Regions from separate parts of the Homo sapiens genome. Here regions 1, 2 and 4 are each linked to region 3. Evidence: promoter capture Hi-C in 16 types of primary human blood cells and fetal thymus (Javierre and others, 2016). All regions are on one chromosome and are shown on one strand. Each heading gives the region's core, a stretch centred on a gene start or on the middle of the fragment in contact. The rest is flanking DNA. Distances are from core to core; before and after follow the strand shown.

Region 1 (3,703 bases), core at 530-3,029, 740 kb before region 3:
CTAGATTTTATGCAAAAAAAGGAAAAAAAATGAAAATAAAAAAACCCATATATACATATTTCCCTTTCATTTACAAAAAGAGCATACACAGGGCCGGGAGCGGTGACTCACGCCTGTAATCCCAGCACTTCGGGAGGCGGAGGCAGGTGGATCACGAGGTCAGGAGTTCAAGACCAGCCTGACCAACATGGTGAAACCCCATCTCTACTAAAAATACAAAAATTAGCCAGGCGTGGTGGTGTGCCTGTAATCCCAGCTACCTGGGAGGCTGAGGCAGGCGAATTGCTTGAACCTGGAAGGCAGAGGTTGCAGTGAGCCGAGATCACGCCACTGCACTCCAGCCTGGGTGACAGAGTGAGACTCTGTCTCAAAAAAAAAAAAAAGGAGCCTACACAGGCCGAGTTTGGTGGCTCAGGCCTGTAATCCCTGCACTTTGGAAGGCTGAGGTGGGCAGATCACTTGAGGTCAGGAGTTCAAGACCAGCCTGGCCAACACAGAGAAACCCCGTCTCTACTAAAAATATAAAAATTACCTGGGTGTGGTGGGGCACGTTTGTAATCCCAGCTACTCGAGAGGCTGGGGTGGGAGAATCACTTGAACCAGGGAGGTGGAGGTTGCAGTGAACTGGGATCGTGCCAGCCTGGGCGACAGAGTGAGACCCTGTCTCAAAAAAAAAAAAAAAGAAAAAGCATATACAATAAACACCAACCTCCACTTCACTTGTTTTCCCTTAATATATGTTGGAGGCCACTATATCAGTGTATAGAGATTTTCATCATTTCCTTTTATCTACCTCATTCCTTTTTAGAGTTGCATAGTATTTTTTATGTGGATGTATTATAGTTTCTTTCAGCCAATCTTCTTATTTAAGAACATTTGGGATGCGTGTAGCCTTTTGCTATGATGAACAGTATCACTGTTTCCCCTTCCCTCTCGATGTACTCGTTAAGAAGTGGTACCCTGCCCCACTGCTACCTAGGAATCTGATGACTACCCTGTTTCCCCAAACTGGCTCTAGGAGTATCTTTTATTCCTTCAACGAACATTAGCTGGGCGTCTCCGGCGTGATTGGCGCTGTGCTGAGAACACAGTGGCGACAGAGACAAACCTAGTCCCTACCTTCATGGAACACACGGTCATAGACATCATAAAACAGCACACAGATAAGAGTCGGATAACAAATTAGACCACACGTGACATGAAGGAACACGGACCGACAAAAGCATTTAACAGGCGGATTTCTGGATGGAGGGCAGGGAAGGAGGGCTTCGCAGAGGAAGTGACGTTGGTGCCGAGACCCGAAGGATGAAATGGGAGTTAGCCAAGCCGAATGGGTAAAAGGATGTTGCAGGCAGAAGGGACAGCCTGTGCAAAATCCCCGAAGCGGGAAAGCGCATGGCAAGTTTAAGGAACCGAAAGGCCAGGGCGGCTGTTAGAGGTGGGGGAAAAAGCAAAGAGGCCGAGTCGAAGCAAGCGAGGTCTGCGGGGCGGTGGCGCCCGGGGGGCCACGTTGGAACTTTGCCTCGAGGGCACTAGGGAGCCAAGGAAGGGTCCTGAGCAAGGGAAGAAACATGGGTCGCGAAAGCCACTGTTCCCCTCTCCCCACGGCGATGCCCTCCCCGCCCGAGCCCCTGCTTCTTTAGGAGCCTCCTCCTTTCGTCTCCGGGCCCAAACGCCGCCTCCCGCTCACCGCAGCTCTGGCCTCCGTTCCCCTCGCGCCCCCTCAGCAGTGCCTCTTCCTACACTCCGCCGCCGCCGCCGCCGCCATCTTCCGTTCGTCGCCGGGAACGGTGCGCACGCGCCACACACCCAGGGCCGCCGGGAAATGGAGTCCAGAGCACAGCCCGACCCCGCCCATGCCTCGTCCCGTGCGAGCGGCATTCTGCCCGCCTCCATACTACGGCGAGCAGACCCTTCATTTCCGGCTCTGGGTCCGGCTAGGCCTTCTGGGAAATGTAGTCCCTTCGGAGGCACCGGGCGGAAAGGGAGCTAGAGCATTCTGGGAAATGGAGTTCTCAGTGGTGCTGAGTCCCTGGACGGCTGGCTGGTCTTGGAGAGTGCGGAGTTCGGGCAGCGAAGCTCCTGGGTCTTGGAGGGGAGGTGGTCTGTTGCCCTAGTGGGGTCTGCGGAGAGGCCCCGATCCCCTCCATCTTTGTTCTTGACCCTTTCAACAGTCTGAAGCATTTCTTTTTCTTTTCTTTTCTTTCTTTCTTTTTTTTTGGAAACGGAGTCCCGCTCTCTCTCCCAGGCTGGACTGCAGTGGCGCGATCTCGGCTCACTGCAACCTCCGCTTCCTAGGTTCAAACGATTCTCCTGCCTCAGCCTCCCGAATAGCTGGGATAACAGGCACGCACCATCACGCCTAGCTAGTTGTTGTATTTTTAATAGAGATGGGGTTTCACCCTGTTGGCCAGGCTGGTCTCAAACTCCTGACCTCAAGTGATTCGTCCGCCCGCCTCGGCCTCCTGCAGTGCTGGAATTACAGGCGTGAGCCACCGCGCCCGGCCAAGTTAAGCATTTCTAGCCGTCGGAAGCCTCAGTCTTCCTGTCTGTCCAATGGGGATGTGATTTCGGGGACCTTTTACGGGTCCTTGTAGTCGCATAGTGGCCCTAGCGTTCTGATTCCCCTTTCTTCCGCCACGGTCATGCAGGGCTCTGGCTCTTCGTCCTCTCCTGCCGAGATGATGAAGCCCCCTGAGGTAGAAAGGCTCCAGAGTTCTGACCTCGGGGCCCTTGGTATCTGCAGCGTCGCTGCGGGCAGCTCCCTCACTCCTGAATCACCCCCAGCTGTCGCGTCCTGGGGCTGCGGCCCCCGGCGCCTGAGGTCTGTCTCCTGGCGATCCCGCAGGGGGCGCCCCAGTCCGAGCGCGCCGCCCTCGGGGAGGCGGGAGGGGAGCCCGGGGCGGGCGAGGGCGGGGGTGTCCCGGCTATAAAGCGTGGCCGCCTCCCGCGGCGCTCGGGACAGCCGTACCCCGGGCGGTCGGACGGGCGGGCGCCGGTGGGAGCTCGGGCCGTGCCCGCTGAGAGATCCAGAGCGCTCCGTTCCCCCGGGGCCGGAGCGGGGGCGGGTGGGGGCGTAAGCCCGGGGGATGCTGGGCTCAGTGAAGATGGAGGCCCATGACCTGGCCGAGTGGAGCTACTACCCGGAGGCGGGCGAGGTGTGTCCTCGGGGATGGCGGAGCGGGAAGTTGGGGGCAGGTATCGGGGTGTGGGCTCACATGGAGCAGGGACTGGTTGTGGGTTCAAATGGAGGCAAAGGCGTCTACTTGGGCAGCTGAGGAACTGGGAACACGGAGACCAGGTGTGGAAGTCGGGGACCGGGGACGAGGCATGGATGGGAGCGCTGTTTGGGCAGCCTCGCCGCGGCCAGGGCTTAAAAATGGAAGTCAGGAAAATTTAGCCAAGGGTCGGGTCACACCTTAAACTTGGGAGCCGGGTGTTGGAGCCCCAAAAAGCAAGGGATTTATATGTACAAACCAAAGATAGGAATCAGAGTTCCAGGGTAGGGGACAGACTAGGGGGTTTCAGGATGTGAGGTTCAAAGTTGGAGGGAAAGAAAGACTAAAAGATGGAGGAGGAGTCACCATTAAGGGGAAGACTGAGGTGGGAGCTCAGGGCCAGCACACAGTGTTAAAGAACCGGGGTTCGGGGCTAAGGATCAGCTGGTAATCTAAGGTAGGGTCAGACATAGGGATTGGTGCTC
Region 2 (3,820 bases), core at 987-3,486, 810 kb before region 3:
CGCCACTGCACTCCAGCCTGGGTGACAGGGTGAGACTCCATCTCAAAATAAATAAATAAAAGAAAGAAAGAAAGAAAGAAAACCCAAGGAGTAAAGTATTCAGCACAAGGGTAACACAGCACAGGGCCTGGGTACAGTAAAGGCAGCTGTCATTAGCTGCTGTCACCCCATTCTCCATCTCTCCCTGGTCCTGCCCCTCTCAGGCCTACACTGTTCCGCAGGCAGCTGCATCCTAATGGCATATAGTGGGTAGGTGAGAAGGCAGAGAAGTTGGGGGCTCTGGGGGCTGCAATCACCTCCTCATTGAACAGCTTGCTGGTGTCCTTTTTGATGAGATCCAGGTACTGCACTTGACCCGCTGAGAAGCCCACCAGCAGCGAGATGGTCTCGGTGGCAGCAGTGAACTGGTTGAAATCGTGGCAGGTGGGCTGGGTGCCCTTGTAGATCCGCTTGTCAATTGGCTTGTTGAGGTCAATGGACTTGAGGGGTGGGAGAAAAGGAGTTAATGGTGTATGCCACTGAGGAGAAGGAAGAGGATGTTGAGGTTGGGGGAAACCACTAAGAGGAAGCAGGGTTAGAACCCAGAGGGAAGTGGGGAGGTGAGTAGGTGGATTGCGAAGGACGGGGCAACCACAGACGGGAAGGGGACCCAAATCACAGACAAGAGTAGCAAAAAAGATGGTAAGGATCCCCCTTGACCACAGTGCCTCCCCAAAGTTGGGTCACCTCTAATTCAGAGACACCCTTGTCCACATAATCAGGGTTCTGGGTCCACACAGTTCCTAAGCTCCGATTCCTTTTAGCCTCACCACTCCATCCTATAACCTCAGCAACTCCCTTGGGACCTAGTACCACACTATTCCAAGACCCCCAAACCTTGAGGTCACCCAAATTTCCAGGACTCTAAAGCCTAACATCCTAGCATTCTCTTCACTTTGTAGTCCCTAAACCGCCACAGTTCTGGGACCCGTCAAACCTCACGGTCTCCCACATTTTAGGCCCATTTATTACCTAGGGGCTCCGAAGGATCCCCATCATTTCTGGGATCACCATAAACGGCCAGGGTTCTCACCACATCGCTTTAGAGATGTCCTGAATCACACCTGCAGATTCCCCTGCCAGGGCCTCTCATTCCCTTGAGAGCTCCCATCAGCTTCCGGACGCTCATCTCCTCCAGGACCCTCATGACTTCCAGACCCCAATTTTCTCTAGAATCCCATTCAGCTTCTGGATCCCCTATCACCTTCAAGGCCCCCATCACTTCTAGACTTCTCCTCATTCCTGGGCTCAATCTCAAGACCCCTCTCCCACACCTCCAGGCTGCAATACTGGGTTCTCCATCACCTCTGGGCTTGCATCACCTCATGATTCCCCATTACCTGCAGAATGCCTGCCACCCCAGAACCCGGGGGATCCCACCTCATCTCAGATACCCCATCATGTCCAATAGTCACCATCCCAGAACTCCTACGCATAACGGGGGTAAAGGGGATTTCCCCCATCACCTCCAAGATGCCTGCCCAGCACCCCGCGGGCCTCTCATCACATTTCAGAATCCTGTACTCCCTCCAATGCTGTCGCCCTACAACGTCCATCACATTTAGAATGCCTATCTCAGGGCCCCATATCAATTCGGGGACCCTCCTATCAGTTCTCTGGAACCTCCATCCTTTCAGCACCCAGGGCCCCACGATGCAGGCCGCTCACCCGTTGGCTCCCACGACGACAGCAGCCTGGGTAGAAATAGAGCTCACGGCCCAAGTTGAAGCAGACGCGGTCTCCCCCCGAGCCCAGCCCCGCGGGCGTGGCGGGCGGCTCCCCGGCCCCGGCGCTGTCCGGCTCCCCGAGGCGCACGAGGCTGAGGCGCACGGCGGGCAGGGCGGGCCCGGGTCCGGGGCCTGCGGGCGGCGGGGACGACGCGGGGCCTGCAGCGCCGGGACCGGAGGCGGAGGCAGGGCCGGGCGGGGGCTGCGGTGGCTGAGGCGGCACCGGAGTCTGGGCGGAAGCCGGACCCGACCTGCGAGCGGCGCCGTCGCCCGGGAGTAGCTTGTAGAAACCCTCGCGCGTGCGGAATTGCGACTTAATCTCCGCGCAGTCCCCCATGGCGGCGCCGGGGCCCGAGCCGCCCTCCGCGCCGCCCGCCGCCATCTTGGGCGCCCCCCGGGCCCCGCCACTGCCGGACTGCCGCCCGCAGCCGGGCCCCCTCCCGGAAGCCGCTGGCCCGCGCCGGAAAAGGTGGGGTCGTCGCCCGGGCAACGCCTCTTCGATTGGCACCCAGATCCGGAGGCGGGACGAATCCCCGCGGTCGCTCGGGTAACGGTGCTGGGACTGTGGGCGGGGCGAGAAGGTGGGCGCGGCCTTTGAGCCTGTGACCGACTTGTGGTTGGCTGCGGGGGCGGAGCCCGCAATGGAAAGAGGCGTGGCCAGTTAGAAAGCTCAAGTCCTTAGCAACCGCGCCCTGGGAACGTTTGCCTAGCAACGGAGGGATTTTTTTTTTTTTTTCCCCCACGACAAAGAAGCCCTCATCCATAGTCCAGCCTTCCCATGAAGTCACAGCCAACCCCAAGTGACCCTGGTCTCTCCTTAGACGCCCAATATACACTCCCCTGACCTCCAGTGTTTCCCACTGACATATTCAAATCCCTGAATGACCACAGCATCTGCTACCATTCTTCCCCACCCTTGGTGACCCACCAAATCCCTGTGTCCCCACACAACTCAGAGGACTTCCTCTGACCCACTATTGATTAATGCTAACTCCAAACATCCTTCATATTTTCCACCAACCTCCAATGTATATTTCCATGATTTTCTTATTTTCAACAACCTCACTTGTCCTCCAAAACCTACCTCTGATTCCCAAATTGTATTGATCCCCACGGTGCCCCAGTGTCCCAGTGATCCACTCGTAACCCAAAGTCTCCCCCTGATCCCAACAGCTCCTACTCATAGCCAGTGCTCCCCATGTCTGCTGAAGCCACCCAGCCCCATCATAGATCTTTCTAGTCTCATGTAGTCAATGGCCTCTACGATTTCTCCCTAGAGTGTCCCAAGGGCATCTCACACTTAAAAAAAAAAATCCTACAATGGTTCGGGCATGGTGGCTCATGCCTGGAATCCGAGAATCCCAGCACTTTGGGAGGCTGAGGTGGGAGGATCGTTTGAGCCCAGGAGATCAAGACTGCTATGAATTCACATCACTGCACTAAAGCCTGGGGGACAGAGTCAGACTCAGTCTCTCTAAAAAAAAAAAAAAAAGAAAGAAAAAAGAATCCTACAATGAAATTGACGTCTTACACCAAATCCTCCACCTCTCTTGCATCCCCACCTTAGGGCTAGCTCTGCCGTCCACTCAGTCAACCAGGCCACAGACCTGGGTGTCTTCCTAGATGTGTACCATTTATCTTCACTCTGCCCCCGCTTACAGCCTCCAAGTCTTTTGCATTCGACCACGTGGAATTCCTCTTTCTCAGTTCCTTGTTCTCCCTGATCCAAGCTTCTCCTCTACCCAAGCCCTTCCCCCACCCCCACATCAACCGTGTCTCTTGGTCTCCCAGATTTCTGTCTCACCCCCACTTCCACCTTTCACTTGGCATGTAGAGAGGTTTTATTTTGTTTTTGTTTTTGTTTTTTTTGAGACAGTCTCACCCTGTCACCCAGGCTGGAGTGCAATGGCTCCATCTCGGCTCAGAGACGGGGTTTCACCATGTTGGCCAGTCTGGTCTCGAACTCCTGACCTCAGGTGATCCACCCACCTCGGCCTCCCAAAGTGCTGGGAGTACAGGCATGAGCCACTGCACCCGGCTTTTTTTTTTTTTTT
Region 3 (3,857 bases), core at 252-2,751:
CACCCCTATGACCCAAACACCTCCCACCAGGCCCCACCTCCAACATTGGTGATCACATTTTAACATGAGATTTGAGACTGAGTAACAAGTGTTAGGATTAAAGGCATGAGCCACCGCGCCCGGCCATCTTCTTTACCTCTCCACTGTGTCAGTTTTATTTTTCTCTTCTTCTCTAGACACTTTGTTCCTCAAGATAGGGGGCAGAGTGGGAAAATGACCATAGTCAGAATCTATGGGAAGGACCCACCCAAAAGGAAAAGGCTTCTTGTGCCCAGGCTGCAGATCCAAACCCCAGGGAAGGACTCTCATTGGTTCAGTCTCCATTCTGTTCCAGGTGGAGCATAATGATTGGTCCAGCCTGACTCGTTTGCCCATCTCTTAACCATCAACATGGTGGGGAGGGGACACGCAGGAGACTGTCAGCTCCTATCCTAAACGGGGGAGGGGGCAGGGGTGATCATTTTCTGAGCTCCTATAAACAAAGTTTCAGTTCTTTTTCCTCCTATGGCTGGAACACTGGAATAAGGAAAGAGGTCGTCTGTCTGGAGAGGCTGGTTGGGGAGTATGGTCTCCCCAGCCCAGCCAAGCTCAGGTCCCTGCATACAGCAGGCGCCTAATTGATGCTTATAGCACGAATGACTGAATGAATACCCCGTTCCCACAGGCTGTCCTGGGATGGTCCTAATTTCACAGACCCTGAGCGGATCAAGAATGAAGCGGGCCCAGGGGTCCCGCCCACCGGCTGAGTGCGTCTTAGGACGCAGAGACAAGACCACGGAGGGCGGAACCTCTGAGCGTTAGGTGGCACCTTGGAGACCCCGCCACCTCCAAAGGCCCAGTTAGGGGCGGAGCTTCTAAACCCTAGCATTTTGGATTGAACCATCGTCCGTCGGTTAAAGGGGAGAGCCGAGAAAGCCCTTCTGCATTTGTCGCCAGCCTTTTTACCACCTCCTGGCCACAGAAACGACGTATTTGCTTCTCTAACGGCGACGCCGTTTCCCCCTTCGCCTCGTTACTCCTCAAAGCCCCACGCGGCCACAGAGTTCAGACTTACCCACCACCACCTTGCAGTGGCTCGCCCCAGTTTGACGCATTGCAGGGAAGGTCGGACCAATGGGCGCCAAGCTCTCATTTCCGCCATGGGCCAGGCCCAATAGTGACGCGGCTCACAGAGGGACGCGTCACGCACCGCCGAGCTGTGCCCCTCCGCCGAAGAAAGTGAAGTGGGCCCGGGAGGCGGGGCGCGCGGCGAGGGAAAGTAGTCCGGCGACGGGAGCGAGCGCGCGCGCGCCCGGCGGCAAACCCAATTCCTGTGCAGGGTGGGGACGAGAGATTCGCGGGCCCGTAGGTGTGGAGCGGGGCGCGGAGGGATCCGTGGGAGCCGCAGTGCGGCGGCGCGCGGGCCGGGTGGGGCGGGGCCGAGCGAGGCGGGGCGCGCGCGGCGGCCGTTGAGGGACCGTTGGGGCGGGAGGCGGCGGCGGCGGCGGCGCGCGCTGCGGGCAGTGAGTGTGGAGGCGCGGACGCGCGGCGGAGCTGGAACTGCTGCAGCTGCTGCCGCCGCCGGAGGAACCTTGATCCCCGTGCTCCGGACACCCCGGGCCTCGCCATGGTGAGTGAGGCTGGGGGGTCGCCGAGGCTGCGGGCTCTGAGGCGGGCTTAACGGGGCAGGACCCCTGAGGGGGCGACAGAGCCCAGAGTGGGGGGCGTCCGGGCCCGGCGAGAGCCTCGGGACCCTTTTCTACCCGCGTTGTCGGGGGCTGTTGAACCCAGAGCGGGACGTCTGGATCACCAGAGGTTTCCAGAAGCGACTTTAGCACCAAATGGGATGTTTAAGTCCACAAATGGGTATCTGAGCCCCTAAAGGGGACATTTGAACCCCGGATGGAGGATCGGGACCCTCAGTGGGACCCCTCAAAAGGATTTTGGACCCAGGATGGGGCGTTGGGTTTCAGGATGGAGGTGTTTGGACCCCAGGGGACGAAATAAGAAAGATGGGCTGGGGAGGGGAGCTATTCGGGCCCTGATGAAGGCGTTTGGTCCTGAGAGGATGCGGGGAACGGGGGACGAAGGGAGGCTGGGCTGCTCCTGGATGGGGTGGTGGAGGGTAGCTGGGCCCGGGCGGGGAGGGGCGACCCCTGGGCTCCTGTGGAGCAGAGGAGAGGGTCAAGGATGGGCGGTCACTTCTACAGATGAGACTCCCGAGGGTGGGGGAGGGTGGGGGAGGGTGGTCTCCAGAGCCCAGCACTGCAGAGGAGGAGGAGGGTGAGGTGCAAGCTTATGGGAGGAAGAGCCTGGGGTGGGTGGCAGCGGAGATTAGAAGATACTCTTGAAGGCTTCCGGGACGGAGAAGGATCAGGGTCGTGGAGGTGGTGAAAAGGGATGGTGAGAGTGGGGCTCGCCAGTAGTCGGGGGACAGGGACCCTTGGGGTTAATTTGGAAGTAGCTAGAAAAGGTTCCGAGGTTACTAGTGGGTTAAGACTGTTGCTCTAGAAAGACAGAATTTTTTTAACGGGGTGGGAGTGTTGTGTTTGGGTCCAAGAGAAGATGGATTTCCAAGGTGAGGGGTGGGGGAGGACTTGGGCTTGGGTGGTTGGGAGGTGAGGTGGAAGGAGAAAATGAATGGCAGTCAGGGGGGCCTAGGTTTGGGGGTGGATGTGGGTAGCACCCTGCCAGTCTCCAGGGACAGGCCAGGACAAAGACGGCTCAGTGTGGATGGGGAGTGGGCTGCAGGGCCCGGAGGAAGCTTTTCTACCGTCCTCCTTCCTCAGGAAGAACGCGGCTGGGTGGAAGACACCGGGGCAGTGGGAGCAGGTGGGCGGAGCTGTTCGGGCCCCTATTGCGCACTGAAGCCTCATGAAATGGGGATGGGAGATCAAAGTTTGGGGTGCCTCGAATGAGCCAGCTTTTTCAAGCCTAGAAGCCTCACTCTGTCGCTGCCCTTTTCAGGCCAAGAGCACTGCCTTTTCCCAGCAGGAGCGCCGGTTTTCTCATGATCCCCAGCCCCACGCACCATGCTGCACCTCGTCACTTGTGCCAAATGACAGTGCAGTACAGTGTGGCGTCAGTGACAATCAGATGCCTATTCCCGTGCCCTCGGGGTGGGGGCTGCAGAGCTTGATCAGAGAGTGCCTCTGGGGAGACCCCTTGATCGGCCTGAGGGCCACTTGTTCCATTCAGGGCCCTCGCTGAGCGTGTCTGTTAATTCACAGGGCTTTGAGAGAAAACCAGCAGACTAGTTCTTTCCTACTCCCTGCCACCCACAACACCCACAGCCCCACCAGGCTGAGCCTGGGAACCGTGTGCAGCCATCCTCCCTGGCAAGGCTGGGGAGAACAGGCAGCCGCTGCTGTGTATCAGATCTCATACTTGCTGACACAGACCTGATGGCTCCTCTTGCCGCTACCCCATTTTCCCCCAGCAGAACCTGGCTAAAAGGGGCCCTGAAGCACTAGCAGGCCCCCTACCTCCAGAATAGGACCCAAGCTTTGGCCACAACTAGTTTCTCTTTCTGTTTGTAATCAGCAAGGTAGAGGTGGGACAAGTCACTGGTAACTGGCCTTGGACTTTGGCCTGAGCTCTGTGGCTCCTCCTTGGCCCGGGTGAGGGGCCCTGGCCTTGGTTTCTGATCTCATCTAACACTGCTCTCTGGCATTGGCTGGGGGCTGGGGCAAGGCAGAGAAATCACACCCTCTTCCCTCCCCCACCTCATGGTTTTTTTTCTTGTCCAGCCCCTTGCTGGAGCCTAAGATGAGGGATAAGGAAGCAGGAGACCAGCTGAGTTATTTTGGAAACAGTTTTTGTTGAAAGTTTAGTCTTCAGGTCTAGAAAGGGAAGAAACCTTGAGCAAGGATCAATGA
Region 4 (4,003 bases), core at 811-3,310, 530 kb after region 3:
CCATGCCGGGCGCTAAGCAATTCTTATTATTTATTTATTTATTTATTTATTTATTTTTTTCTGAGACGGAGTCTTGCTCTGTTGCCCAGGCTGGAGTGCAGTGGCGCGAACTCGGCTCACTGCAAGCTCCATCTCCCAGGTTCATGCTATTCTCTTGCCTCAGCCTCCTCAGTAGCTGGGACTACATGCGCCTGCCACCACGCCCGGCTAATTTTTTGTAGTTTTAGTAGAGACAAGGTTTCACCATGTTAGCCAGGCTGATCTCGAACTCCTGACCTCGTGATCCGCCCACCTCTGCCTCCCAAAATGCTGGGATTACAGGCGTGAGCCACCACCTCCGGCCTAAGCAATTCTTAAATAAAAATCTATGATTCCGCCAGGCATGGTGGCTCACACCTGTAATCCGTGCACTTTGGGAGGCCGAGGCGGGTGGATCACAAGTTCAGGAGTTCGAGACCAGCCTGGCCAACATGGTGCAATCCCTGTCTCTACTAAAAATACAAAAGTTAGGTGGGCATGGTGGCTTTTTTTTTTTTTTTTTTAGACGGGAGTCTCTGTCATCCATGCTGGAGTGCAGTGGCAGGATCTTGGCTCACTGCAACCTCTGCCTCCCAGGTTCAAGCGATTCTCCGGCCTCAGCCTCCCAATTGGCTGAGACTACAGGCGTGTGCCACCACGCCCGGCTAATTTTTTAGTATTAGTAGAGATGGGGGTTTCACCATCTTGGCCGGGCTGGTCTCGAACTCCTGACTTCGTGATCTGCCCTCCCTGGCGTCCCAAAGTGCTGGGATTACAGGCATGAGCCACTGTGCCCTGCCAAAAAGCCTATGATTCTAACATCAGAAATCCTTCCACCTCAGCCTCCCACGTAGCTGGGACTATAGACTCAGTACCACCACACCAAGCTAATTTTTGTATTTTTAATAGAGATAGCGTTTCCCTATATTGACCACCTGGGGCCATCCCTGGTTTTTTTTTTTTTTCCCTTCCTTCCTTCCTTTCCCTCTCTCTTTCCCTCCCTCCTTCCTTCCTTTCTTTCTTTCTTTCTTTTTTTTTTTTTTTTACAGAGTCTTGCTCTGTTACCCAGGTTGGAGTGCAGAGGCATGATCTTGGCTTACTACAACCTCCGCCTCCCGGATTCAAGCAATTATCCTACCTCAGCCTTCCAAGTAGCTGGGACTACAAGTGTGAGCCACCATGCCCTGCTAATTTTTTTATTTTTACTAAAGACGGGATTTCACCACATTAGCCAGGCTGGTCTCCAACTCCTGATTTAAAGTAATCTGCCTGCCTTGGCCTTCCGAAGTGCTGAGATTACAGGTGCGAGTCACCGTGCCTGGCCTATTCCTGTTTTCTTAACGCTCCTCTCTCCCACTGGGCCGTGACTGCCTCTAAGGCAGAGATGTGTTCATTTTTATTATTATTGTATGTCCAGGGCTGGGCACAAAGTGCAACACATAGTAGGGACATGAAAGGCTGGGCACAGTGGCTCATGGTTGTAATCCCAGCACTTTGGGAGGCAGAGGCGGGAGGATGGCTTGAGGCCAGGAGTTGGAGACCAGCCTAGGCAACAGAGGGACCCCATCTCTATGAAAAAAAAAAAAAAAAATTGACAGTTCAATGTCACCTCTGATAAGCCTTCCCTGACCACCCCTGTTACTCTGTAGCCCCATGTCCTGCTTTATTTTTCTCCAAAGCATTTATCATCGCTGGGTTTATATTTATTTCTCTTCGGGCTTTTCTCACTGGATCGTAAACTCCATGAGGACAGGGCTTTGTCGATTTCACTCAATACCGTTATTTTACAACATCCCTATTGCTGGGATCTCAGTATGCACTCCTTAAATATTTGCAGAATTTAAGTGCCACATAAGTGACCACGTGGGCAACGCCCTCGGGGCCTTAAGCCGCGCCATTTTTGGGGCTAGGATTGGTTGGACCCTCCGTCACGTGACATGCAGTCGCCGGATCGCCTTTGAGTCTCGTGAGGTACTTTTGGTCCCAGGCTCCGCGGACGAGGTACTGCGCAGGCGTGGGAGGGTCTGCGCATGCGCAGAAGCACTCCGGGCGTGCTGCCGGCGGCGGTAGGTGGCGCGCGGGTCCGGCGGGCGGTTGGCTTGAGCGGGACCGGAGCTGAGGCAGGAAGAGCCGGCGCCATGGTGGAGAAGGAGGAGGCTGGCGGCGGCATTAGCGAGGAGGAGGCGGCACAGTATGACCGGCAGATCCGCCTGTGGGGACTGGAGGCCCAGAAACGGTCAGGGCCGGCGCGGCTTGAGGCCGCTAGGGTCTGGAGGGGGCGTCTATTCTGAGGCGTTTGCGGCCCGGAAGGAGCGGGAAGGTGTGATTTGAAGGGAGGAGGCGGGAATTCTGTGCTCTGGGATCGTCTCTCTCTTGGGGGGACTGGAGGAGTTGATTGGGGATGTTTCTGGAAGGTCTGGGAAGTGGTTGGGAGGGCCGTTCCGAAGGATGGGAGCTCTGAAGGGGGCGTTGGGGAGTCCTGAGAGAGCGGGAGAATTCAAACTCAGGAAATCCGAGGCCCGAAAGCGGTGATTGTGGGGTTTGATCGCGGTTAGGGGATAAGAGGGGCTGGGGATACGTGGAAAGGGTGAGGTGAGGGACGCAGTTCATTCATTCGAGGGTATGGGACCTGGTTCCGTGCTGCACACAGGGGAGACTGGACTGGCCAACCGGACAGACGGGAGCTTACACTCTTGTGGGAGCTCACGGGCGGGCCAGTCTGAGAGAATGCGGGTTTTGAGGAGTTTTGGAGCAAGTTATCTCAAATGGGAATCTTGAGAGGCTCGGAGAGGCTGGAGGGGGACGGCCGTAGGCTCCCGAAAAGGTTGCTTGTGTTTGGTATGGGGCTGTGTCTTGATAGGACAGGAGACGTAGTTTGGGCATTGTGGAGTAGCTTAGGGAATTCTTTTTTTTTTTTTTTTTTTTTTTGAGATAGTCTCTCTCTGTCGCCCAGGCTGGAGGGCAGTGGCGCGATCTCGGCTCACTGCAACCTCTGCCTCCCGGATTCAAGCGATTCTCCTAACTCAGCCTCCCGAGTAGCTGGGATTATAGGGGCCCGCCAGCACGCCCGGCTAATTTTTGTATTTTTAGTAGACACGGGGTTTCGCCATATTGACGAGACTGGTCTCGATCTCCTTACCTCAAGTGATCCACCCGCCTCGGCCTCCTGAAGTGCTGGGATTACAGGAGTGAGCCACCGCGCCAGGACGTCTTTTGTTTTGTGCAGTTGGGTGACCTCGGTTCACTGCAGCCTCTGGCCTCCCGGGTTCAAGACTTCCTCTCACCTCAGTCTTCTGAGTAGCTGGGATTACAGGCTCGCGCCACCATGCCTGGCTAATTTTTGTATTTTTAGTAGACATGGGTTTTCACCATGTTGGCCAGGCTGGTCTCAAACTCCGGACCTCAAGTGATCTGCCCGCCACAGCCTCCCAAAGTGGTTGGATTACAGACGTGAGCCACTGTGCCCAGCTTGTTTTTTTTTTTTTTCTTTCTCTGTGGCCCAGTGGAGTGCAGTGGTGGGATCACAGCTCACTGTAGCCTCAACCTCCAAGGCTCAAGGGATATTCCCTCTTCAGCCTCCCAAGTAGCTGGGACTACAGGCGTGCCCCACCACATCATCCGACTAATTTTTGTTTTTTTTTTTTTTTGTAGGATGGGGTTTTGCCATGTTGCCCAGACTGGTCTTGAACTCCCAAGCTCAAGCGATCCTCGGCCTCAAGAGATCTCCCCCCATCTCAGACTCCTAAAATGCTGGGATTACAGGCATGAGCTACCATGCCTGGCCTCATTGATCAATATTTTTACTTAGCCTGGACGCAGTGACTCACACCTGTAATCCCAGCACTTTGGGAAGCTGAGTTGGGGGGAGGGGACCTCTTGAGCCCAGGAGTTTGAGACTAGCCTGGGTAATGTTGCCAAACCCAGTCTCTACAAAAAAATACAAAAATTAGCCAGGCATGGTGACATAAGTTTATAGTCCCAGCTT

Evidence for each region. Contacts are between HindIII fragments. The CHiCAGO score rates a contact against its expected background, and 5 or more counts as called.
Region 1: a contact is called between the fragment with the promoter of SYMPK here and the fragment with the promoter of CALM3 in region 3, in 1 of 17 cell types (neutrophils). The highest score is 5.1, in neutrophils.
Region 2: the fragment with the promoter of DMWD here is called in contact with the fragment with the promoter of CALM3 in region 3 in 1 of 17 cell types (erythroblasts); the score reaches 6.4 in erythroblasts.
Region 4: a contact is called between the fragment with the promoter of SAE1 here and the fragment with the promoter of CALM3 in region 3, in 7 of 17 cell types (activated CD4 T cells, total CD4 T cells, neutrophils and 4 more). The highest score is 6.7, in activated CD4 T cells.

Annotation. Positions count from the first base shown.
Region 1 is chr19:45,861,368-45,865,070 of GRCh38, forward strand. It overlaps SYMPK (symplekin scaffold protein), which reads right to left and starts at 1,780. Exons shown (of 27, transcript NM_004819.3): 1 at 1,691-1,780. FOXA3 (forkhead box A3) reads left to right here and starts at 2,959. Exons shown (of 2, transcript NM_004497.3): 1 at 2,959-3,158. The coding sequence starts at 3,090. RefSeq lists enhancers at 805-1,443, 1,695-2,104 and a silencer at 2,745-3,154. The HindIII fragment of the contact is 14,624 bases long and covers 1-3,703 here.
Region 2 is chr19:45,790,609-45,794,428 of GRCh38, forward strand. DMWD (DM1 locus, WD repeat containing) reads right to left here and starts at 2,237. Exons shown (of 5, transcript NM_004943.2): 1 at 1,708-2,237; 2 at 297-479. The coding sequence starts at 2,148. RefSeq lists enhancers at 608-667, 688-737 and a silencer at 1,886-2,365. The HindIII fragment of the contact is 5,053 bases long and covers 1-3,494 here.
Region 3 is chr19:46,599,829-46,603,685 of GRCh38, forward strand. CALM3 (calmodulin 3) reads left to right here and starts at 1,502. Exons shown (of 6, transcript NM_005184.4): 1 at 1,502-1,609. The coding sequence starts at 1,607. It also overlaps the pseudogene PPP5D1P. RefSeq lists enhancers at 767-1,266, 2,995-3,064 and a silencer at 1,397-1,536. The HindIII fragment of the contact is 6,234 bases long and covers 1-2,272 here.
Region 4 is chr19:47,128,775-47,132,777 of GRCh38, forward strand. It overlaps SAE1 (SUMO1 activating enzyme subunit 1), which reads left to right and starts at 2,061. Exons shown (of 9, transcript NM_005500.3): 1 at 2,061-2,254. The coding sequence starts at 2,157. RefSeq lists enhancers at 1,835-2,449, 2,142-2,381. The HindIII fragment of the contact is 6,112 bases long and covers 1-4,003 here.